3 separate regions of the Homo sapiens genome follow, and regions 1 and 3 are each linked to region 2. Evidence: promoter capture Hi-C in 16 types of primary human blood cells and fetal thymus (Javierre and others, 2016). All regions are on one chromosome and are shown on one strand. Each heading gives the region's core, a stretch centred on a gene start or on the middle of the fragment in contact. The rest is flanking DNA. Distances are from core to core; before and after follow the strand shown. Region 1 overlaps SLC7A8 (solute carrier family 7 member 8). Region 2 holds the start of MYH6 (myosin heavy chain 6). Region 3 overlaps LINC00596 (long intergenic non-protein coding RNA 596).

Region 1 (3,130 bases), core at 12-2,511, 280 kb before region 2:
TTCCTTCCTTTTCTTTATTAATTTCAAAACTGGTTACATAGCACTTACTGTGTGCCAGGTCTCTATGTTTAGCATTTGACAAAGATTAACTCACTTAACCCTCATAACATCCCTATGAGGTTTTCTTGACAGAGTCTACTTTCCAACTTCAAAATCATCTCTGTGGCTCTCTTGGAACCATGCTCCTCCCCTCTGATAACTTGTGAAGGTCAACAAAAGGTTCTGTTCTCTTGTGAGATCCGATGGTTAAAATAATCGAGAAGATTTTAATGGTTCTTGCTACATCTGCCTTTTAGTCACACTACTGCACCAATAGCTCTAACTGGAAAAAACAAAACAAAACAAAACAAAAAAATGTGTGTGGCCCACTGGGAGTACTGTCTTCTCCAGCCACCTTCGACAACCAACCAGTCAAGGTGACCTTCATCCTGCATCTGAACATTCTGAAATTGTACAGCAATGCTGTAAAATGCTCTTGGCTCCCAAGAGCTCTGTTATTCTGATTGCTAACTGCTTCACCAGTGGACCAAAGTCATTTTTAGTGTTTTATTCAGGATCCAGAAGGAAAATAAAAATAACTCAAAAGACTCAATGGGGACAAGTCTTTGTTCCTTCCTATAGCTCTCTCAAAATGATTCTACTCTGGGGATATTTTACTCCCATCTCTTTCCTGTCCCAAGTTTCCTTTGCACAGTTTCCAGTTTATCAGTCTTCCTCTATTATTTTTCGTATTTGGTGTACTGTTAACACTAACTTCATTTCAATGATGTTTCCCAAGAGACTGGCAGGCTGCCCTGAAGCTTGATGGGGGAAGTGGGTGTTTGCAGGGACCAACCAGCCAGGAGCAGAGGCCAGTGCTGCAACCCTGTGGTAACAGGTGCGAGGAGAGCCAAGGGAGATATATTTTTTTTGAGGCTGTAGAATCCTGAGACAGTCAGTTCAGTCTGACCCAAAAGGATGGGAGAACGGAAATAAGTCAGCCTGAGAGCCTTAGGTATTTCAAGACTCAGGATCTTTCCTTGCTATATCTCTTGATATTAACAAAGATGATGGGTATCATTTGCCAGATCCTCTAAGATCCAGTGAGACCTAGCAGCAGACTGCAAGGGTAACAGGGGTGTGTGTGAAAAGCATGAACTCCCAGCTTAGACTAGGCACAAAGAGAGGGAGGTGTGTGGAGAGTTACAGCAGGAAGGGCCCTTACTGTGAAGAGCAGGGCTGGGATTGGGGTGCAGCGCTTCACGTGGATCATGGCCAACACACTGGGAAGGTGGCCCTCTCGGGCTCCAGCGAAGAACAGCCTGTCAGGGAGAAAAGCAGGTCAGCCTGGGATAACCCAGGGACCACCAAGCCCCAGCTCCTTCATCCTTGCCTACCTTCTGCCCACACAGGGGCATCCCCACTCCAACCAGGCACCCGCCTTCACATGCATACTTTCCACCCCACCAGTCACAGAACCTGTGTTCACAAATGCAGGTGCAAGCAAACCAGAGGCAGCCAGTGGAAAAGTGGATGAACCCTGGGTATGTTAGACCCTGAATGTGGTATGGGTGGCTCAGGGTTACTGATAATTGTACTGTCACTCAGTGGGGTGTTCCCAATGCCTGGAAGGCTGCAGGAGCAGCCTCTGTCTGTTGCCTAAAATCTTCATCTCTTTAAAAGCATTCCTCACATCCTCAAAGGATGCAGATTCCCTAATACACTGGGACTGAACTGCATATGGAAAGCTTTAAAAACACTCTATTTTTTTTTTTTTTTTTTTTTTTGAGATGGAGTCTGACTCTGTCGCCCAGGCTGGAGTGCAGTGCTGCAATCTCGGCTCACTGCAACCTCCGCCTCCCAGGTTTAAGCAATTCTCTGCCTCAGCCTCCCGAGAAGGTGGGATTACAGGTGTGTGCCACCATGCCCAGCTAATTTTTGTATTTTCAGTAGAGACGGGGTTTCACCATCTTGGCCAGGCTGGTCTTGAACTGCTGACCTCGTGATCCACTTGCCTCGGCCTCCCAAAGTGCTGGGACTACAGGCGTGAGCCACCGCGCCTGGCCTAAAAACACTCTTGTCCTAGTCAGAGAGTAGTTAGTTGTCTTTGTGGGAGTAGGGAATTGGTGGTGGAAATGTTCTCTATCTTGTTTTGGGTAGTGGTTGAATTTTGACAACTGTCAAAATTCATCAAATGGAAGCCAGGCACAGTGGCACACACCTATATTTCTAGCTACTTGGGAGGCTGAAGCAGGAAGATTGCTTGAGCCCAGAAGTTCAAAGCCAGCCTAGGCAACATAGTGAGACTCTGCCTCTAAAAAACAACAATAAAAAACAAAAATGAACAAACACAAACAAAAAAACCCCCACAAAACTCATCAAAATGAACATTTATGATCTGCTTTTTTTTTTTTTTTGAGACGGAGTTTCACTCTTGTTGCCCAGGCTGGAGTGCAATAGCACGATCTTGGTTCACCGCAACCTCCGCCTCCCAGGTTCAAGCGATTCTTCTGCCTCAGCCTCCCGAGTAGCTGGGATTACAGGCATGCGCCACCACACCCAGCTAATTTTTGTATTTTTGGTGGAGACGGGGTTTCTCCATGTTGGTCAGGCTGGTCTCGAACTCCCGACCTCAGGTGATCTGCCCGCCTCGGCCTCCCAAAGTACTGGGATTACAGGCATGAGCCACTATGCCCAGCCTATGATCTGCTTTTTAAAAAAAAAATTGAGGCAGGGTCTTGCCATGTTGCCCAGGCTGGTCTCGAACTGGGCTCTAATGATCCTCCCACCTCGGGCTCCCAAAGCGTTGGGATGACAGGCATGAGCCACCACGCCCAGCCTGCATATTTTATTGTATGTAAATTGTACTTAAAAATTTATATCCTGTCTTGTGGGATTGAGTTTAAAAAAATTATATCCTGTCTGGGCACGGTGGGTAACACCTGCAATCCCAGCACTTTGGCAGGCTGAGGCGGGAGAATCATTTGAGCCCGGAAGTTTGAGGCCAGTCTGGGCAAAATAGTGGACCCTTGTCTCTACAAAAAATAAAAATAAAATTAGCCAGGTGTGGTGGCATGTGCCTGTTGTTCTAATTACTCGGGAGGCTGAGGTGACAGGATCACATGAGCCTGGGAGGCTGAGGCTGCAGTGA
Region 2 (3,207 bases), core at 56-2,555:
GCATCTTCTTTCCCAGACCTCCTTCCCTTCTGCCCCGGCGCCATGCCCTACTCACCTTCCCATTCTCGGTTTCAGCAATGACCTTGCCTCCCTCCCGGGACAAAATCTTGGCTTTGACAAACTCTTCCTTGTCATCGGGCACGAAGCACTCAGTGCGAATGTCAAAGGGCCGGGTCTGGGCCTCTAGACGCTCCTTCTCTGACTTGCGGAGGTACTGGGCCGCTGCCCCAAAGTCAGCCATCTGGGCATCGGTCATCTTGGTGCTTCCCCTGGGTCAGAGACAGGAGGGCTATGTTACTCCTGAGGGAGCCCAGGCTCCAGCGAGTGGCTTTGTCCTCTGCAGCCCCCCTCCCTACCCCCGCTCCTCTCCTCCACCCTGGGAGAGGCACCTGCTGTTGCACCCTCCCCTACTCAGGGCTCTGCTTCTCCTGCCCTCTGAGGTGATGCTGAAGGACAATCTCTGTAAGGGGTTTCCCTGGGGTGGCATTGGCTGGAGTATGCTAAGGGTTGGCGCTGAGTGCTTGGGACAGCAGACCCCTGGTCCAGCAATCCGGCTCCCAGGAGAAGCATGCCCCAGTCTCTGCAGAGAAAATGGGGGCAGTTCTCACCTGGTTATCCCTTCACGGAGAATCCTGAAGAATCTGGACCGTGGGTGGAGCAAGGAACAACAGAGGTAGAGCCGGGCAGAGAGAAGAACAGATGAGGAGAGTGAAGAACAACAGAGGCAGGCCACCCGGGGATGGAGGCAGCCCCAGAGCGCAGACAGGCAGGACAGACCAGGGAGTCAGAAAGGGAAAGACGCAGAGGCAGAAAAGAAAGGGCACCGAGTCAATATGAGTGCGAGGGACGGGGTGTGGAAACAGGGTTAGAAGCAGAGAGGCAGGGAGGTGAGAACACGTGCCAAGAAGGAAGGACAAGGGAGAGAGACAAAGAAGCATGATTGTGACAAGTGTCGATGAAGACCAAGAGGCAAGATAAAACCAGGATCAAGGGAAGGAAGCCATCCAAAGGAGGAAGGAAGATGGAAAGATGGAGACAACATGTAGGAGACTCAGAATGATGCAGAGAAAGAAATGGAGAGTCAGAGAAGGAGAAAAGAGGTTTCTGGGTTTCCTGTGGAACCTCCTTGTGTCAGGGGGAACTTCCCTGGGCCTGGAGATAGGCAGTTTTAATAGAGCCCTTAGGCCTCCAACTGACCTGCACCCCACTCCTGGTGAAGGAGGTCCCTCACGGTGGGGGCTCTGTGGACGGGCTGCAGGGCATCCCACCCCAAACCTCCTCTTACCTGGGCCGCAGGAGTCTCTCTATCTGTCCTCAAAGCTCCAGTTCCTTTATATCCCGTTTCCCCCACCCTCTGTCTAAATTTGGAGTCCTTCCGGAGGGACCCTCCCTCCCACCTCTCTCCCCTCCTGGCTCCTCCTCCTTTGATCCTTTGGCTCTGGAGGTGACAGGAGGACAGCAGGGCCCCCTGATTTGCCCAAGAAAGGTCTGCTGCCCCAGCCTCTCTGGCTCCACGGCCTTTTTTTAGTCCTTGGGCACATTCCTCCCCTTCAAAGGGCTGATGAGCAGATAGTGGGAAGACAGGACCTTCTCACACCGCCTCTCCCACCCTGCCATGGCCCTTACCTCAGTTATTTTTAACCCGAAGGGTGAACTGAAAACATGGGTGAGGGTCACCTTCTCCTGCAGGCCAAATGCCTGTCCTCCGCCTCCCAACCATGGGCTTTCCTCCCCTGTTCCCCAGCCTCTCCTTCCCATTCTGACCTCCCTCACACAGTCCCAGGCTGGGAGCATCTTCCTGCTGTTAGTACTGGAGCCCCCAGTGCTAGGGACTAAAAGCTGCAGTATGGTGCCCAGGGAAGGGATCTGTTGTCCATCTCCATGGCTCAGTTTTCTTTTGTCAGGAAATTCTGTCCTGGCCTCAGTCTGCATAAGTGCCATGCCTGGTCTCCTTCTGTTCCCCAAGTCTTCAGACAAGTGTTCTCCCAAGGTCTTGAGGCCACCCTGGTTTGGGGACACGTCTGGAGTCCCCACCCCTTCCCTAATGCTCCTGATAGAGTGGCCAACATCCAACCTGCTCACGCAATGGCAGTGATTCTCCCTGCCGCCTCAGGCAGATTTTCACACAGAACCCCAGTTCAGCACTCTCACATACAGACTTGACCGTGTCTGTGCCCATCTTCAGCCACACATGCAGATTTTTCACACTTACCCACTCAAGCTTGCAGATTTCTTTTCTACTTTCTTTTGTGTACATGGATGCACACATTTGCACATCCGCATTTGCACACATAGGCTTTTGCCCTCCCCTGCTACCCTCTGCTCCTGGGGTGGGGTGGGCAGAAGAAGATGGTGCTAATCCTAGGGCCTGAGAGAGGAGGGGGGTGGGTGAGGGGCTGTCCCCTTCTGCCTCACCGGGCTGCCAGAGGGTGCAGGTGCCTGGCAGGCCTGGGGATTTACACCATCTGGTCCCCAGGCACTGCATTCCATCGGGGTGGGGCTCTGCCACCTGCCCCCTCCCCAGGCAGAATTTTGTTGCCCCTTTCCAAGCCCTCCAGGGCTTATACTCACATTCCCTTCTTTGTGGGTGTCCTCAAGCACCCTAGGCCCTCAAGGCCCCGCTCCCCATCCTCCAATGCTGCCATCTCTCAGAGGCTGTAGGTGTCAGGTCTTCAGCAGGCTGTTCCTGTTATGACTAAGTGGACATTGTGTTCAGGAAACAAAGCCAGACTCCCCTGCTCTGGCCTTCCCCCCACCCTCACACCCAGGAACACCCTCCCAGCCCCCCTCCCACCAGTTTACTGTCACCTCTCAATATAGCTCCAGGGTGTGGAGGTGGGTAGGACGACAGGGGTCAGCTTCTCTGGGTAGGAGCACTTTCCATTAAGATGTGGCCTCTCCCCTAGCTCCCTAGGACGCTGCCACCCCATTCCTGGGCTCAGGAACACACCTCTCTTTCCAGAGCATTTGGACCTTTTCTCAATGTCCTTGGAGGGACCTTAGTTGACCCCACATCCCCATCTTCTGCAGGTGCTTATGCCAAATCATTACCCCCAGGGGATGCAGGCCACCTGTCCCCAGCTCTAGGTTACTCGAGGCCCCAGAATTCGAGCCGGGGGGTTAGCCCATGGCCAGTGCGTCACTGCTTGGTTCCCATAGCTCTGGGGACATGATAAGGAGCTGAGAACGCCAGGTCAGTCTGGGTCG
Region 3 (2,935 bases), core at 345-2,844, 470 kb after region 2:
AAATAGACTTCTGCACAAAAGGCTTGCACATGTTGTGCTTTATTTATTCTTAATTATTTAATATTTTATGCTATTATTAATAGCATCTTTCTTTTTATTTTGTTTTCTACCTCTTTGCTGCTAATATATAATAATGTAAATTATTTTCAAATATGAAGTTTGTTCTGTCAACTTGTTAAATGTATTAATTTTGATAATTTATCTATAGAGTCTTTCGGATTTTCTAAATATCCAATCATCAGATGATCCATGAATGATAACACCTTATTTCTTCCTTTCCAATATTTATGCCTTTTACTCATTCTCTTGAATTACTACACTGGGTAGGATTTCCAGTATAACACTGAAAAGGTGTAGTATTTGTGGGCATTTTTGTCTTGTTCCTGAACTCAAAGGCAAACTTTTCAATGTTTCTTCAATTCCATGTGTTGGCACAGAATGTGAAGCAATGAGAACTCTTATATGCTGATGATAGAAGTATAAATTCATACAGCTATTTTATAAATAAAGTCATTAACTATTAAAGGTAAAGATATAATACTCTATGAGCTAAAAATTCCAATTCGGCCGGAAACTATAAAACTACTAGAAGAAAACATTGGGGAAATTGTCCAAGACATTGGTCTGGGCAAAGGCTTCTTGAGTAAGACCTGAAAACCACAGGCAACCAAAGTAAGAATGGGCAAACGGGATCACATCAAACTAAAAAGCTTCTTCACAGCAAAGGAAACGAATAGCAAAGTGAAGAAACAACTTATAGAATGGGAAAAAAATTGCAAACTATTCAACTGGCAAGGGATTAATAACCAGAATATATAGGGAACTCAAACCACTCAACAGCAAGAAAACAAGTAATCCAATTTTTTTAATGGGCAAAAGATGTGAACAGACCTTTCTTGAAAGAAGATATACAAATGGCCAACAGGTATGTGAAGAAAATGTGCAACATCATTAATCATCAGAGAAATGCAAACCAAAACCACAGTGATATATCATCTAAACCCAGTTAAAATGACTTTTATCAAAAAGACAATAAAACAACAGGTGCCAGTGAGGATGTGGGGAAAGGGGAATGCTCATACGCTATTGGTAGGAATATAAATTAGTACAGCCATTTCGGAAAACAATATGGGGGTTCCTCAAAAAACTAAAAATTAAGCTACCATATGATCCAGCAAATCCCACTGATGGCTATATATCCAAAAAAAAAAAAAAGGGAAATCAGTGTATCAAAGAGATATCTGCACTTCCATGTTTATTCACAAATAGCAAAGATATGGAATCAACCTAAGTAACCATCATTGGACGAATGGTGGTACACATACAACAATGAAATATTATTCAGCCATAAAAAGTAATGAAATCCTGTCATTTGCAACAACATGGATGGAACTGGAGGACATTATATTAAGTGAAATAAGCCAGACACAGGAAGACAAATATCACATGTTCTCACTCATATATGGGAGCTAAAGAGTCGATCTAATGGAAATAGAGAGTAGGTTGATGGTTACCAGGAGCTGGGAACTGTGGAGGTGATTAGAGGATGAAGAGGGGTTGGCTAACAGGTACAAAAATACAGTTAGATAGAAGGAGTAAGATCCAGTGGTAACACAATAGGGCAACTATAGTTAATAGTAATTTTTGTATATTTTGAAATAACTAGAGGAGTGAAATTGGAATGTTCCTAACACAAATAAATGATAAATGCTTGAGGTGATGGACACCCCAATTACCCTGATTTGATCATTATACAATGTATGTTTGTATCAAAATATCAAACCCCATAAATATGTAAAACTATTATGTAGCTATAAAAAATTTTTTGGCCCAGCGCGGTGGCTCACGCCTGTAATCCCAGCACTTTGGGAGGCTGAGGCAGGTGGATCACAAGGTCAGTAGATTGAAACCATCCTGGCTAACACAGTGAAACCTCATCTCTACTAAAAATACAAAAAATAAGCTGGGTGTGGTGGCAGGTGCCTGTAGTCCCAGCTACTTGGGAGGCTGAGACAGGAGAATGGCGTGAACCCAGGAGGTGGAGCTTGCAGTGAGCCGAGATGGTGCCGCTGCACTCCAGCCTGGGCGACAGAGCGAGACTCCATCTCAAAAAAAAAAAAAAAAAAATTTAGGAAATTTCAATTCTGGATATATGCCCAATAGAACTGCATGCACATATGCCCTAGGAGGCATGATAAGAATGTTTTATAGCAGCACAATTTATAGAAGTGCAATTTATATAACTGGAACAAGTTACATTTCTATCAACAGTAGAATGGATCAATTGTGGTACAGACATCAATGAAATATGTATTGGTTGTCTATCATACTACCCCAAAACTTAGTGACTTTTCATTGAGTTCACAATTTTATGGATCAGCAATTTAGACTGAATTCAGCTGGGGAGTTCTGGTCTCAACTGAGCTGCCTCATGCATCTGTGAGATTCTTTTAATTTCTGAGGGCTTAGCCCACACAACCAAGCTTACTCAGCTGTGTTCCACATACATCATTCTCCAGCAGTCTAGCCCAGCCTTTTTCATGTGGCTGAGGCAGGAGTCCTGAAATACAGAGCAGAAGCACACAGGCTGCTGGAGGCCTATGCTCAGAATAGGCGTGTGGTCACCCTGACCATATTCTATTGGCCAAAGGAAGCCACAATGCCAGCCCAGATTCCAGGGAAGAGAACTAGACCCCATTTCTTCATGGGAGGAGCTCTAAAGTCACATTGCAAAAGGCATGGGTATTGGAAAGAGTGAAGGACTGTGAGTGTTTCTTTAATCTACCACTGAAAACTGGGATTGAAGTGAAAAACAATAACCTGCTACTACACATAACAACATGGATGAATCTCATCAATAATGTTGAGTGAAATAAGCCAGGCTACACAGAATGCATACTGTATAATTCCTTTTATATAAAGTTCAAAAACAGGC

The links. The method cuts DNA at HindIII sites, captures the fragments that hold promoters and counts their contacts. A CHiCAGO score of 5 or more calls a contact.
Region 1: a contact is called between a fragment that was not itself captured here and the fragment with the promoter of MYH6 in region 2, in 1 of 17 cell types (erythroblasts). The highest score is 5.0, in erythroblasts.
Region 3: a fragment that was not itself captured here is called in contact with the fragment with the promoter of MYH6 in region 2 in 1 of 17 cell types (M2 macrophages); the score reaches 5.3 in M2 macrophages.

Annotation. Positions count from the first base shown.
Region 1 is chr14:23,130,257-23,133,386 of GRCh38, forward strand. It overlaps SLC7A8 (solute carrier family 7 member 8), which reads right to left. Exons shown (of 11, transcript NM_012244.4): 8 at 1,205-1,301. Among named protein-coding and RNA genes, the nearest start is that of CEBPE, 13 kb to the left of the region's middle. The HindIII fragment of the contact is 927 bases long and covers 799-1,725 here.
Region 2 is chr14:23,406,968-23,410,174 of GRCh38, forward strand. It overlaps MYH6 (myosin heavy chain 6), which reads right to left and starts at 1,306. Exons shown (of 39, transcript NM_002471.4): 1 at 1,286-1,306; 2 at 609-641; 3 at 56-269. The coding sequence starts at 256. RefSeq lists enhancers at 1-2,476, 159-659. The HindIII fragment of the contact is 15,953 bases long and covers 1-2,219 here.
Region 3 is chr14:23,878,919-23,881,853 of GRCh38, forward strand. All of the region lies in intron 2 of LINC00596 (long intergenic non-protein coding RNA 596), which reads right to left. Among named protein-coding and RNA genes, the nearest start is that of LINC00596, 23 kb to the right of the region's middle. The HindIII fragment of the contact is 1,773 bases long and covers 709-2,481 here.